Regions from separate parts of the Homo sapiens genome. Here all the other regions are linked to region 1. The links are contacts of gene promoters, found by promoter capture Hi-C in blood cells and fetal thymus (Javierre and others, 2016). All regions are on one chromosome and are shown on one strand. Each heading gives the region's core, a stretch centred on a gene start or on the middle of the fragment in contact. The rest is flanking DNA. Distances are from core to core; before and after follow the strand shown. Region 1 holds the start of CHRNA1 (cholinergic receptor nicotinic alpha 1 subunit). Region 2 overlaps CHN1 (chimerin 1). Region 3 overlaps CHN1 (chimerin 1). Region 4 overlaps CHN1 (chimerin 1).

Region 1 (3,740 bases), core at 645-3,144:
GACTCATTCTATTTCTTTTCATTTCTGCTCTTGAACCAGCACATTTTTGCCTGAGCTCAGCTCTTCCTTGTACTGACTTGCTAAACAAAGCCAGAAAGAGCCATGGTGCACTAACTTTGGGTTTACCAGCCTCTATTCTGGGAGCTACAGGCTCAGTAGACACATTGTTCACCAAGTAATTGAGGACAACAGTTTATGAAATGATTTGATACCATATAACATGGGTCTTCATATTTTCAGCCTCCAGTATCAATTTTCTTGCCTTCTGCTGCAGTGCTACATATTTTAGAATTTATTTTTAACCTCAGGATACTAGTGCAAAGGATTACATATTTTATTAATTACGGAACACTAGCTGCTGTACAAATAAACCCAAGGATTTTGATGGCTCAGCACGATGCATGTTTTGTTTTCATTGAAATAGTGCTGGGTGGTGAGCAGGTGGATAGGGGGTCCCCCTCCATGCAGTCATTCAAGGATTCAGAATGTCAAAAGCAACACCACCTTCAGAACATGGTTTCTAAGGTTAACTTTGGGACCATGTCCATTCTAGCCGGTCAGAAGACTAGAAGGGCGGGGCTGAGCTCTGGTAGGTTTGTGAGTCTGAGAACATTTTTCCACTCATGCCACTGGCCAGAGGTCAGTCCCATGGCTCCATTTAGATGGAAGGGGCTGGTCAGAGGGTGGGGGTTGTATTTCTGCCACGGGGCTATTCCATGGAAGGGAGAGAACCAAATTTTTTTTTAGCAAACAGTTAACTGATCTCCCACAGTTTAAACAAAAAATATAAATAGTATGAGCTTGCAGCTCTCTCCTCTACCCTCCAAGCCCCTTCTCTAATGATTTGTTTGGATCCACTGGAATGAGAGGATCTGTCAGGATGTTGTTGTGGGCTTGAGGTGAGAGGACCTTTCTCACCTAGTTCCATGTGGGAAGGAGGCCTGGAAGGAACAGGCAGGGTACCTTTAAGTAACTGTCTCCTTCTGGGAACTCACCTCACACCCTGCAAAGAAGCACAGCTAGGGTAACAATACTTCTCAGACTGAGAAATTACTAACTGCTGGTTTTTAGGATGTTTTTCAAGCAAGATAATTGAAAAGCTGAACCACTCTGCTCTTTGCTTCCCTGAGTGAGAGTAGGCAGAGGGACGGATGGAAGGAGGCAGGAACCCGGAACGACTGCTGATGCGGTGGGACACTTTTTCCCAATAATTACTCTTCGCTTGAATCACAGTGCATAGGACGTGGGCAATTTGCTCCAGCTAATGGTTCGTGTGGGATAGGTATTGCCTGATACAGAGGCAGGGGTTGGAACAGCCACTCTGGGGGCCAGTAAAGCCAGTTTTATGGAAGAAGCTGTCTTTGTTAAAAACCAAACCCAATCAACGTGGGGGCTTCCCAGCAGCAGACTCAACACCAGCTACACTTTTCTGAAATCCAGGCAGTCAGAAAAGCCCCCGGCACCCTCAGCCTAACACTGAAGCAGAGGAAATGAAACTGAAGCCATGTTTGCAGAATGTGGATTTTTGTGGTTTAGGACAAACAGCTGACTATCTACTCAGACCAAATGACCCTAATCAAGTCAACCCACAGAGATGAGGTTCTGGTTTACACAAAAGAGAGGCAGTTTGCTCACCATTTAAAATAATTCCTTCCTTCCTATACATTTTTTTTTCATTAAGATCTGACTACTGGTGCATTTAAAATATAATGCAGTTCATACTCAGCTTGTCAAGGGTAAGCAATTGTGTAAAGTGAGGCATATCTGTAATGGTGTACAGTCCCAGTAACTCCCTGGGCTCCAGGGCTGAGGGCAGCCCAGCTGTCGCTCCCACAAACAGGTGGTGTAAAACAATAGCTCTAGTGAGCCGACTCGCTTTCCAAACCCTCCAGCAGACAAGCACCCAGCCAGAGTGCCAGTGAGAAGCACAGGCCACCACTCTGCCCTGGTCCACACAAGCTCCGGTAGCCCATGGAGCCCTGGCCTCTCCTCCTGCTCTTTAGCCTTTGCTCAGGTAAGTGCTGGGGTCAGGGGTGGGGAGAGGGCTCTCCTTTGAGGCTAAAGTGCTGGAGGCCCCCAAATCAAAGTCTTGCTTCTTTGATGAGACCACAGAATGGCAGAGCCTCCCCAACCAGGGGCTGCTCTGTCAGTTTCTTCCTGATGTTAGCTTGATTGAGTTTTTGGATAAAGATTTTTAGTTTGCCTTATCTAATTAAAATAGAAACTGCCTGGTCAAAGACTTCAAGATAGACACGCATGTCTCTCCCTCCATCATGCCTGGCAGCCGACTCATCCCTCTGAACACTCGGCACCATTTGTAGGACCTGGACCACTTGTGGATCATGGTAGTGTCCGGGGGTTCATATTTAAACAACTATGGATACTTAGAACAGTGCCTTATAATCACATACAATGGAGTTAACAAGTCCCTTTACTGCTCCAGGAGAATTCTAATAATAAAGAGGACTGATTGACAGCTACATGTGCTGGAGATAGAAACCAGTTAATAATCATAACTAAACTCTCTCCACAGAGACAAATATTTTTTAATTTTTTCAAAATTTCTGAAGTTAAAAAAAATTCCATATGAATACATTCCTACCTACTTTTTTTTTTTAAGATGTTACTATATATAGGTTTGGGTTTGAATTGAAACTATAAAACCTTGCACAGCATTTGACCTGCATTCTACTCTGGAATGTGTCCTAACACAGCAGCTGAAACACCATCCTGAATCCCAGACTTCCGCTAGAGGGAAACAGGAGATGTTTGCTGATTGCTTCACATAAAAGTTTACTGGTGATATCATCCCAACTGAGAAACAAGGTGGCTGACATCCTGTGATTTTTCATTTCCAATATTGCTCTGAAAAACACAGGCCTTCTGGTCAAGAGGCAAAAAGCTTTATTATTAATTTTTTTCAATATCAGAGTTGAGTGAAAGAGCCTAAACTCAGATAAATTATATCATGTGGGATTTGGACTCTGTCCAGCCAAAGCTGGCCTGATGTGTGTGTGTGTGTGTGTGTGTGTGTGCGCGCGCGTGCACACACATGCGTGCACGCAAAACCACAGTCACAGGAAAATTCTTAAATGATATGCTTTAATGTAAACATCCTTAAGAGATCTCTTAGGATTTTGGTTATTGCTAACCAAAAATGCATGATTAGCTATTAAAGAAGTATGTGATATGTATTTAGGTCAAATCTCGAGTTTGCTGGCATTGATTTCCATGGGTGTTTTATAGAAATTTAGAGCTAGATCAGGCAGTCCAACATCCTCAATTTTTTATTACAAGGAAACTAAAGCTGACCTGCCCAAGGTCACTTAATTTATACATTTTGGAATGTGGTCAGTTGGAGACTTGGTTTATTACATGCACAGTCAGAAAACACAGCCTGAACTAGCCAAAGGTAGCAAGAGATACAGAATCAGGTTAAGATAATAATGATCCATGGGACTAGTAACAGTTCAAAATTTCTTTTGCCCAGCCCAGGGAGCTATTTCCTACATACAAATACAAATGGAACCAGTGTGGTACAAAAGGAACACTTTGAAACTGTGGTTGAGTTTCCCTTCTTAGAATCAGTCCTTTGTAGACAAAATTGTCATTTATATCAGGGACTCTTTTCCTGTGTTAGCTTAACACAGCGTGATCTCTGTTCTATTTATACAGCACTTTTCATTTCAACTTTTTCTTTTCTTTGCCTCTGGAATCTCAAGCACTTCATTGCCGTCTTT
Region 2 (3,740 bases), core at 882-3,381, 210 kb before region 1:
TCTGATTGATGGTGATCTAGATTTGTTTTCTCTTCAGTCACTAAAGGTCTGGCTATCATTCTAATTTCCAGAGTATTTTGAAAACATTTTATTACTGGTTTGGTCAGTCTGGAAGGACAAAGGATAACATGATGGGAACAGTTTAAAATGATTGTGTATCGTTAGCTACATTTCACACTATCAAAAGTTATTAAAGATATATTTAAAATCCAGAATCTTTATTGCATTTTGACAAATGTAAGTGAAAAAAGAACCAGAAATAACAATAAACTAGAATTGATTAGAGATGCATTTGGAGCCTGGAATTAGTATTTACAAAATGGATTAGTCTCTCAATGTGGTGCAGGGCAAAGTATGAGCCATTACCTGTGTAGTAAGTAGGTTTGTAGAAATGTTTAACCTGAATCAGGGCTGGCTTCATTGGCATGTGACCTACGCAGTCACTCAGGGCCCACACGCAGAGAGACCTCATTCTTTGTTTAATGCCCTGTGCTGCCATTTTGAAATTTTTAATAATTTTTGAACAAGGGGCTTGCAAATTATCTAGCAGATCCTGATCTGAATCATGGGGAAATAATCACAGAAATACGGATTGTGGACATTCTACAAGACAGCTGGTCTAGATTTTTAAAAAGATGTCATTGTCATGAAAGATGTTTTTAAAACCTAGAGGAGTGGGAAATGTTCTAGGTTGAAGAACGCTAACTAAGGAGACATGGTAACCAAAAGCAATGCATGAACCTTGATTGGATCCTGGATCAAAGAACAAAATAAAATAACATTTTTCACGTAATTGGAAATACTTGATGATATGTTTAAACTGTAATATACCATCAGGGTCCTTTTTGCCCAATATTAATTTTTGAGTTTCTTTTTTGAACAGTTCTAAATCTTTATATACTTTGACATTTCATTACTTTTATTTTTTCTTAGAGGTCTTCCACAGAACAAAGAAAACAATTTACCTGTTTTTAATAGAATGAAAGTCATTATATCTTTTAAACATTTTATTTATTTTTTCATTTTAAAGCCAGTCAGATTTAGCAATGGGGGGTTATATATCAACTTTAGTGAACTAATGTTAATAAATTTTGATAACCCACTACCATTGGAGCAGCCAAAAGTCATTATATCTTGCAATTACCACACAGGTCCCTTTAGAAATGTAAGCCTCATGAAGGGATTTTAGTGATCTTATCCTGAAACATTTTGCCACTCCATCATCCTAGGAATTATTTGCTCATTGCTTATGAATTACTCCCAATTATACTACAAGTAAAAAGACTAACATAAAAATCAAACAAAAGAATTCTGTATTTGTGAAATACATGATCCGATTGTGTCATCCTTCAGTTTTCTTATTGCGTTGCCCAAGGTGTTGCATCATCTTCAACAAGGTATAAAGGCAGCCTGAAGACACTGTCTTTGTTGTCTGTTAAATTTTCATTGAACACACTTTGTTAAACACAGTTGAAAACTTTTAATTGTTTATTTTCAGCCCATATTGGCAAACAGCAATTCTTTGACAGAGGAAGATTTTTCTAATTATTAGACAAATCAGGTGAACAGGTAATGGCACTCTGGACTCTAATGATAATGGTTAAATTGATTATATAGAAGAAATGTCAATATAGATTATCAGATGATGATATCCTAGGTCTAAGGTTGACAAGCTGGTCAGAGTTTTATTAGGAAAGCCATGTCCACTAATTTACATATTGTCTATGGCTGCTTTTCTGCTACAAAAGCAGAGTTCAGTCGTTGAGACAGGCGGGTTTGTTTTGCAGCCTAAAATATCTACTTTCTGAAACTTCACAGAAGTTTGCCAACCTAGTTGTCTAAGGTGAATTTCATCAAACTCAAGAATTGACAGTGAACAATGTGTCTAAGGACAGAAGGAGAAATAGTATTCAAACTCACATAGTCATTCAACAGGAAGGATTTTATTGCAGCAAGATGCTGGACCATCCCGTTTGCTAATAGGACCATTGACAGTATTTTTTCATCTTTTATGATGTTTGTGCACCAGAATTTACTTGATGCGGTTATTTAGTGGACAGATGCCAAAGACAGGTGTGTGTATAACAATGACTGGAAGGAAATGAGTGATATAGAAATGAACGATTTTATTGGATTGATCAGTTTAATTGGTTTTTATAAATCTAAAAATAAAAATATTTTGCAATTATGGAGCAAAGAAGATGGCTCTCTTTTCTTCAACAAAATTATGAGCCATCTGAGTTCTTTAAGGTATTCTGTTTTGAAGATGCAAGTGCAAGAGGAAAAACCAGAAGTAATGATAAACTAGAATTTAATGAAGATACTTTTGAAGTCTGGAATCTTGATTGCATTTTGACAGGGCAAGTGCAAGCAAAACCAGAAGCAGCTGGGTGCGGTGGCTCATGCCTGTAATCCAGCACTTTGGGAGGCAGAGGTGGGCAGATTACCTGAGGTCAGGAGTTCAAGATCAGGCTGGCCAACATGGTGAAACCCCGTCTGTACTAAAAATAGAAAAAATTAGCCCGGCATGGTGGTGGGCGTCTGTGATCCCAGCTACTCGGGAGGCTGAGGCAGGAGAATTGCTTGAACCCGGGAGGCGGAGGTTGCAGTGAGCCGAGATCGTGCCACTGCACTCCAGCCTGGGTGAAATTTATATAAATTTGAAGTCATTTTATGAATAATTTACAGATGTAATAAAAGGATAGTGAAACATAACATGGCAGAAATTTTAATAAAAATTTAAACAGGAAAGCCAAAATCTTAGTCCTTTTTTTTTTTTTTTTTTTTTTTTTTTTGAGACGGAGTCTTGCCCTGTTGGCCCAGGCTACAGAGCAGTGGCGCGATCTCTGCTCACTGCAAGCTCCGCCTCCCGGGTTCACACCATTCACCTGCCTCAGCCTCCCAAGTAGCTGGGACTACAGACACCCGCCACCATGCCCGGCTAATTTTTTTTTTTTGTATTTTAGCAGAGACGGGGTTTCACCATGTTAGCCAGGATGATCTCGATCTCTTGACCTCGTGATCCGCCCACCTCGGCCTCCCAAAGTGCTGGGATTACAGGTGTGAGCCACTTTTGTTTGTTTTAAAGATATATATCCCAAAAGGGCAGCATTCTTTGAAGTCTCATCAACTAACTGCTCATTAATTCTGTCATGTATGAACCTGGGATATATCCATTTATGTAAATACTGATTCCAGGCTTCAAATACATCTAGTTTATATCAAATAGATTCTAGCTTATCATTGCTTCTGTTTTTTTTTTTTTTGTTTGTTTTGTTTTTTTTGCCTGGCTAAAATTTATATAAATTAAAAGAGCTTATGGACCTGGGTGGTAAATGGTAATGACTGCTCTTCCAGGTACAGAGGGTTAATTTCTTGGGTGTGATAATGTTTTCGTGGTTGTATTGAAGAAGGTTCTTGTTTTTTTAGTAGGTAAGTGCTGAATGATTTAAAGGTGAAGTGTTGCATGCCTGCAACTTACTTTGAAGTGCTTGGGGAGGGCATAATATAGAGAAGGGAGAACAAATAGGACAAAGTACTAACAATTAGTGAATTTAGATGAAAGAATACTGATTTCTTGTACTATTCTTTCAATGTTTTAGTAGGCTTGGATATTTTAAAAATTAAAAAAATCTAAGAAATGAAAATTTGGCTCTCAAACACACATGCAAAGAACCATTTCCCCCCAGTAGATGTCCCTTTTAGAGGAAGTACTTGCATTTATACTATAAATACATATT
Region 3 (3,740 bases), core at 445-2,944, 190 kb before region 1:
GATTGCAGTTTTTTAAAAGTTCATTTTCTTTTACTGAAGGATTTAGTGTACCAGGGAGGCTGAGGTCAGAGACACTTCCAGCATCCACCTTAGGCTGTGCCAGAATCTGTCCTACCTGATAAACGCAGAAGCTTTTTGTGTGACCTTAGATCACCAGTTTCAGTTATTCCTTCTTCAAGGCCATTTTATTTCAGGAATGTCTCTGCCTCTTCTTGCCAGTGGGACTTGGCTTGAGCTATGAGTGTCTTCTGTGACAGAACTCTTTAATTTTGAATCTCAGGAATTAAAGATTGGGGTAATGTTTCTTCCTTTTCAGGAAGATTTAGCGTCCTGGAAAATTGGTCCTCCTGCCTTCAGCAACTAATTCTGCATATCAAGAGATTGAGGCACTTTTTCCTAAGCCATTCAACTTTCCCCTCCCAGTGTCCCCTCCTCCCCTGAGTCCTAAGGACAGTGGCACCTACCCACTGGTCAACTAAAGGAACATTCAAGCCGCTTTTCTCTCAGCAAAAGGATCCACACCAGTGATCTAAGGTCTCTACCCATAAACATAAGAAAGGCCAAAATAATTTTTAAGTGTTCTCCTTCAAAGAACATCTCATCTAATCTCTGCCTTAATAGATACCTGTTACACAGTTAAGCTTATGGTATATATAGCTAATTGCTCTCCAGAGAGGTTATGCCAGTTTAGACTTCTACCAGCAAAAAATAGATTGCTAGGAAAATATATTTAAAACCTAAACAGTGCTCTTAAATGTCATTAATTAGAATTGTTTTAATATTAAAAGAAATATTAAAAGAATATTAAAAGAAATTCAAACTTTTCCCCTAATATTTCTTATTTTTTTGCCAAATACTAAATTTATTTGGCCATGATTGTGATCTGTAGCATCTTGAATAATGTCTTTTATAACAGAGCAGGTGTACATGGAAGACCAAGATAGTAAGAAGGGAATACATGGCTGAAATCATTAACAGCGGCTTGAGGCTAATATGGTAATATTGTGTTTTCAGAATAACTTTTGGTGAAGGCAGGAGAGGGTTCTTATTTACTGAAGGTCTCCTAAGTACAAGGTGCTTTATAGATGATACCTAATTTAATTCTCAACAACAAACCTATGTTGTTACTATTCCCATTTTAGATGATATTGTTATTCCATTTTATAAATAAATAGATTAAGATGCAGAGAGGTAGTAAATTTTCTAAAGTCACAGAGCAAGTAAAGGTTGATGTTCCCTAAGAAAGCGCCACCTAGCACTAAGTACACAGTTCTTAGAGTAAGGACTTTGAGAATTAGCCTTTCTTTCTCACCTTCTCCAAAGTCAGAATGATCTCCGGGAGGCCCTCACGGCTCATAGGTGCAGCTTTGCACAGGGTCTGTGAGGCGTTAGGGCCAACTACAAAATCTCCAAGACTTCCCTCACTTTTGACACCAACTGCAAATTGAGTGGGGGAGTTCCCCAACCACCTTCATGGACTAAAATTCACTAGAAGGACTCAACAGAACTCACTAAACATTACTTACATTCATGGTTATTGCCGGGAAAGGATACATATTAAAATCAGCCAGGGGAAGACAGGCACAGGACAGCGTCCAGGAGAAATGCAAAACACAGAGTTTCCATTGTCCTCTCTCCTTGGAGTCAGGACACATGCCCACCCTCCCTCCCTCCCTTCCTTCTCTCCTCCTGTCCTTCCTTCCTTACTTCCTCCCTTCCCTCCCTTTCCTTCCTTCCTTGGTGCCCAGGCTGATCTTGAACTCCTGGGCTCAAGCAGTCCTCCTGCCTCAGCCTCCAGAGTAGCTGGGATTACAGTTATGTCGCTGGCTTCTTCTTGCATTTATGTGTGATGATCCACGTGGGATATTTCCAACCAGAGAAGCTCTCCCGGCCTCGGTGTTCAGAGCTTTCATTGGGGCTTTATTGCATAAGCATGGTTGATTGACTGTCCATGTGGTTCCTTAACTGATACCAGTGACCCAAAGCCCCAAGTTACTCTCTGGCTGGCCCCAGGCAAACAAAAATTATCTTTGAAGGCAAGGTCTAGACCTCTTCTGAGACAAGATTAAATTATTTACTAGATAGGGTCCCAGTCTCATTGAGTGCTCCCTCCCTTCCTAGCCCCTCACAGTGGATCAGGAGGTACCTGGTCACCACCTCTTATGGTTTGGAGCCCCACAAGGAAGTGGAGACACACATAGAATATGGGTGTCCTGTTATAAACTGGAAACTCGCTCCACGTCATACTCCTTAGGATTGAATTATAATAACAGCAGAATATCAAGGAAATAATAACATGACTTGAATGCTTACAGGCAAATTTTTTCTAGTATTAAAAATACAATTGAGTTAATTATGGTTTACTTATTAAGACAAACTTCAATATAATTAACTGCCCCCCCCCCCAACACACACACCCTAGCAGAGGCATTGTGGTCACTTGCAAATAATCACAGAGAAGTAAAAAATTTGAGTCATATGACCTGCCTGTTCCCGGCTGTGGCCAAGCAAGGCAGTTCTCCGCCTTGTTTCAGCTCTCACGCTGTAAACAAGTCCTCTTTTCATGGTCTTTTCAGGGCCACACTTTTTTACATTTTTGTGGGATTTTATTGTTGTTGTTCTTAGTGATTTTGCCATTTAAAATGGTCCCCAAGCCTCGTGCTAAAGTGCTGTCTAGACAGTGTTCCTAAGAGCAAGAAGGCTGTGATACATCTTTTGGAGAGTATGCATGTGTTAGATAAGCTTCATACAGGCATGAGTTCCAGTGTTGTTGCTGTGAGTTCAGTGTTAATGAATCAACGGTATATACGAAATAAGGTGTCTTTAAAGAGATACACATATAACACAAGGTTATGTATTTAATGGTTGATGAAAATGTTGTGACCAGAGGCACACAGGAACCTAACCCTGTGTTGCCCCCAGGAGCAGTGGTTCAGTATTTGCTGCTAAATTCAGTGTTCGAGGTAACTTCATAGCATATAATTACTGTGAATAATAAGAAATGACTCTATTTGCTGCATTATTTCATTCATTATTCATTTATTCATGTAATCTGTTATTCATTCTTTTTTTTTTTTTTTTGAGATGGAGTCTTGCTCTGTCACCCAGGCTGGAGAGCAGTGGTGTGATCTCAGCTCACTGCAGCCTCTGCCCACTGGGTTCAAGCAGTTCTCCCTGCCTCAGCCTCCTGAGTAGCTGGGGTACAGGTACCTGCCACCACGCCCAGCTAATGATTGTATTTTTAGTAGAGATGGGGTTTCATCATGTTGGCCAAGGCTGGTCTCGAGTTCCTCACCTCAGGTGACCCGCCCCTCTTGGCCTCCCAAAGTTCTGGGATTACAGGTGTGAGCCACCACGCCCGGCCTGTTATTCATTCTTTGAGCAGACATATTTGTGTGTGTGTTTTGTTTTTTCATTTTACCATCATATATTCCTTCTCTGATGCTCTTTCTTTATGTAGATTTGAGTTTCTGACTTACATCCTTTTCCCTCTGTTTTTGAAGAATTTCTTCTAACATTTATTTTTGGCCAGGTTTGTTGTGTTGAGTTCTCTCATTTGTTGTTTTTCTGAGAAAGTCTTTATCTTTCCTTCTGATTTGAAGGATAATTCTAGTGGATATAAAATTTGGGGTTGTTATTTTTTCTTTCTTCAACATTTTGGATATTTTACTCCTCTCTCAATGCTTTTATGGTTTCTAGTGAGAAGTCTACTTGTAATTCTTATCATTATTCTCCAATGG
Region 4 (3,740 bases), core at 370-2,869, 170 kb before region 1:
GTTCACTGATATTAATACAGTGTATTTGGCACTGGACCATTATTAAACATGGACCCTCAAAGTGGACGCACTTTTCCCCCTGCTATCCACACAGTGGGAAATGTAGTGATGATTTTTTTTAAACATATAAAGCCAAATTTCTATTCCCTGTGACACATTTTTCAAGTTAGTGTTGCAGGGAGTTGGATAGCATTTTTGAGTACAGGTGCACATTATAGTAACAATGAGGTTGTCTTTCTCTAGGCTAAATGGGTAAAGTAGACTGAGGCTGGACAAAATGTACTGAAACACAAGTCAGTGCTATTAGTGTAATGAGAAATGTAGATAAAATTACACAATTTACACTGTTTTCAAATTCTAACTACAATACCAATTAGAGTAATACTGAGTATGTATTTTGGTAGCACATGTTTTATTTTTATTTACTTTTAATATATTTTTTAGAGACAGAATCTTGCTGTGTTGCCTGGGCTGGAGTGCAGTGGCCCAATTTTAGCTCACTGTGGCTTTGCATTGCCAGGCTCAAGTGATCCTTCTACCTCAGCCTCCTGAGTAGCTGGGACTGCATGTGTGCACCGCCGTGCCTGGCTTTTTTGTTTTGTTTTGTTTTCTTGTAGAGATAAGGTCTTACTATGTTCCCCAGGCTTGTCTTGAACTCCTGGGCTCAAGCGATCCTCCTGCCTCAGCCTCCCAAAGTGCTGGGATTACAGGCGTGAGCCACCGTGCCAGGCCAACACATGTTTTAAAAATGTTTTTCTAAAGACCTACTTATAGAAGTAGGAAATTGACTGTAATCATTTTACTCACCTGTCTCCCCCAAGCAGATTATGTTCAGCACCTAGGTATGCTGACTGGTGTGTAGTATAGGTTGTTAAATGCTTATAGGGTGGAATGAATGAATGAGATATCTTTGTGTAATTTATTTTTCAATACAATGTTCTTATAATATGGCTTACAAAATGTGTGCATTAATACCTATATCTGTTAGAGATGCTCTGGTTCTTTCTGTCACATGTATGTATTTGTTCATTCAGTCAGCATTCTTGGAGGGGCTACCATCTGCCAGGCCCTCAGGTTTCAAGTCAAATAAAGCAAAATCCCTCTCCTGAAGGAGCTTCCAGTCTAGGTGGGGAATGGAGCGGTAGCTCAACCTTTACTTAGTGCAGAAGCGCAGAGTTGGTAGTACTTACCTTGATACATATGTATGCAGCTCCTCTGGCCAAGGGCAGAGTACTTGTGGGAGAGTGGTAAAAGATAAGCCCGGAAAGCTAACCAGGCATTAGTAATAAAGGGTTCTATGTCCTAAGCTTAGAGTTTAGACTATAGAAGTGAAAGTATTTTAAGCAGGAGAAAAACGTGATTGATTAGGCTTAGGAAGAACAACTGGCTGCAGGGAAGAGGATGGATATTTTAGAGACAAAAAGACTGGTTTAGGAGGCTATTACAGTAGTCCTTGTGATAAGTGAAAAGAACCTACAAGACACTGGTTCTGAGAATAGTCAAGAGGGATTAGGAAAGGGGAATATTTAAAGCAGTAGAATTCTCAGGACTTGCTGACAAGATGGTCATGGGTTGCATGAGAGGGAGTCTAGTAGATTTTCAGGAACCAGTCAACTCTCCTAATCTTCTTTCATGTCATACTTGCTTGGCAAAACTGCAACCCTATTGCTATCTCTGCCTATTCTGCACATTCTGCCAAGTAACAGTATGGCTGGAGGAAAATGAAATATTTCGGAATTTCTGAACTTCAAGTTGGTACTTAATGCTCCCTGTACTGCCTTTATTCATGTCATGCCCTTTCTCTCTTCTCAAACCTCTAATACAGGGGTCCCCGGCCCCTGTGCCACAGACTGGTACCGTCTTGTGGCCTGTTAGGAACTGGGCCGCACAGCAGGAGGTGAGCAGCAGGCAGGTGAGCAAGTGAAGCTTCATCTGTGTTTATAGCTACTCCCCATTGCTCACATTACTGCCTGAGCTCTGCCTCCTGTCAGATCAGTAGTGGCATTAGATTCTCATAGGAGTGTGACCCCTATTGTGAACTGCCCATGCAAGGGATCTAGGTTGTGCACTTCTTATGAAAATCTAATGCCTGATGATCTGTCACTGTCTCCCATTACCCCCAGATGAGACTGTCTAGTTGCAAGAAAACAAGCTCAGGGCTCCCACTGATTCTACATTATGGTGAGTTGTATAATTATTTCATTATATATTACAATGTAATAATAATAGAAATAAAGTACACACTAAATGTAATGTGCGTGAATCATTCCAAAACCATCCCCTCACCTCTGACCCCTGTCTGTAGAAAAATTGTAAAATTGTCTCCCACGAAACTGGTCCCTGGTGCCAAAAAGGTTGGGGACCACTGTTCTGATACCTTACTCCCTCTCCTAATTTTCAGCTCATAATTTTGTATCCTACTTTACTCCTGCTTAAAGCCATCAGAAGAGAACTTCCACAAACTTCCACTGTCACATCCACCCAACCATCAGTATTTGTGTCTGTATGTTCTGCATTCTTGCTTAACCTCATAGGTGATAGCTAGCTCTTCACTACACTAAACCTCACTTCCTCTCTATCTGCTTAAGGACATAATCCTAGCAATTTTCTCCTTTCCTCCACCATCAACAGCTTTTCCCTTTCTGCAAGATCATTTTCGTCAGCCCACAAATATCCTATTATTTCTCCTATCTTAAAAAGTTCTCTTGACCCTGCTTTCTCCATTTGCCTCGCTCAATTTCTTTGCTTTCTTTTGTAGAAAATATTTCAAAGTGTTGTCTGTACTTGCTGTCTGCACTCAGAACTTTACCCACTGCCACTCCAAGCAGAACTGCTTTGGTAAGGTCAGTACTGACTTCCCTATACATACAAATCTAGTAGTTTTTTTTTTCCTCTCATCATCCCATTAGGAGCATCTGATACAAGTGATGACTTTCTCCTCCTTGATACATTTTTCTCACTTTGTTTCCAGGATACTACATTCTTTTATTTTTTCTTTTGCCCCCACAGTCTATTTCTCTGGTGCTGCTTCAACCTGATCTCTTGATTTTGGGGTGCCCCCAAATCCTCTCCTCTTCTCTTCTCTACCTATATTTACTTTATTATGATCTTACCAGTTTCAGGTTTTAATGTAACTTACATTTCTTTATATGTCCAGTCCTTTCTCCCAAACTCCTATATACCTATATATATACACACATATATATCCAGTTTCCTACTCTACATCCCCTCTCATATGTCTAATAGACATCTCCAACAGAAATAGCCTGTTCAAAACAGAACTGAGCTTCACCTTCCTCCCCAACCTTCTATTACCACAGCCTTCCAGATCTCAATTGATGGCAGTTACTTAATTCCAGTTTCCCAGACCAAAATCAGGAAGTCATATTGGGTCTATCTTTGGAATATGTCCAGAATCCTAACTGTATTAGTCTGTTCTCACATTGCTATAAAGAAATGCCTGAGACTGGGTAATACATAGAGAAAAGAGGTGTTTAATTGGCTCATAGTTCCACAGGCTGTACAGGAAGTATGGCTCGGGAGGCCTCAGGAAACTTTTATTCATGGTGGAAGGCAAAGCCAGAGCAGGCATCTTCACATGGCCATAGCAGGAGGAAGACAGAGGGCAGGTGCCACACACTTAAACAACCAAATCTCGTGAGAACTCTATTACAAAAACAGCACCAAAGAGGGAAATCCACCCCCATAATCCAGTCACCTCCCACCAGTCCCCACCTCCA

Evidence for each region. Contacts are between HindIII fragments. The CHiCAGO score rates a contact against its expected background, and 5 or more counts as called.
Region 2: a fragment that was not itself captured here is called in contact with the fragment with the promoter of CHRNA1 in region 1 in 13 of 17 cell types (naive CD8 T cells, naive CD4 T cells, total CD4 T cells and 10 more); the score reaches 17.9 in naive CD8 T cells.
Region 3: a fragment that was not itself captured here is called in contact with the fragment with the promoter of CHRNA1 in region 1 in 8 of 17 cell types (total CD8 T cells, naive CD8 T cells, naive CD4 T cells and 5 more); the score reaches 10.9 in total CD8 T cells.
Region 4: a contact is called between a fragment that was not itself captured here and the fragment with the promoter of CHRNA1 in region 1, in 6 of 17 cell types (naive CD8 T cells, activated CD4 T cells, naive CD4 T cells and 3 more). The highest score is 8.2, in naive CD8 T cells.

The regions. Positions count from the first base shown.
Region 1 is chr2:174,762,626-174,766,365 of GRCh38, reverse strand. CHRNA1 (cholinergic receptor nicotinic alpha 1 subunit) reads left to right here and starts at 1,894. Exons shown (of 9, transcript NM_000079.4): 1 at 1,894-2,014. The coding sequence starts at 1,972. RefSeq lists an enhancer at 1,394-1,893. The HindIII fragment of the contact is 3,214 bases long and covers 1-2,904 here.
Region 2 is chr2:174,975,182-174,978,921 of GRCh38, reverse strand. All of the region lies in intron 1 of CHN1 (chimerin 1), which reads left to right. Among named protein-coding and RNA genes, the nearest start is that of CHN1, 28 kb to the left of the region's middle. The HindIII fragment of the contact is 7,564 bases long and covers 1-3,740 here.
Region 3 is chr2:174,956,113-174,959,852 of GRCh38, reverse strand. The region is part of intron 1 of CHN1 (chimerin 1); the gene reads left to right. Among named protein-coding and RNA genes, the nearest start is that of CHN1, 47 kb to the left of the region's middle. The HindIII fragment of the contact is 2,101 bases long and covers 644-2,744 here.
Region 4 is chr2:174,932,636-174,936,375 of GRCh38, reverse strand. All of the region lies in intron 3 of CHN1 (chimerin 1), which reads left to right. Among named protein-coding and RNA genes, the nearest start is that of CHN1, 71 kb to the left of the region's middle. The HindIII fragment of the contact is 619 bases long and covers 1,310-1,928 here.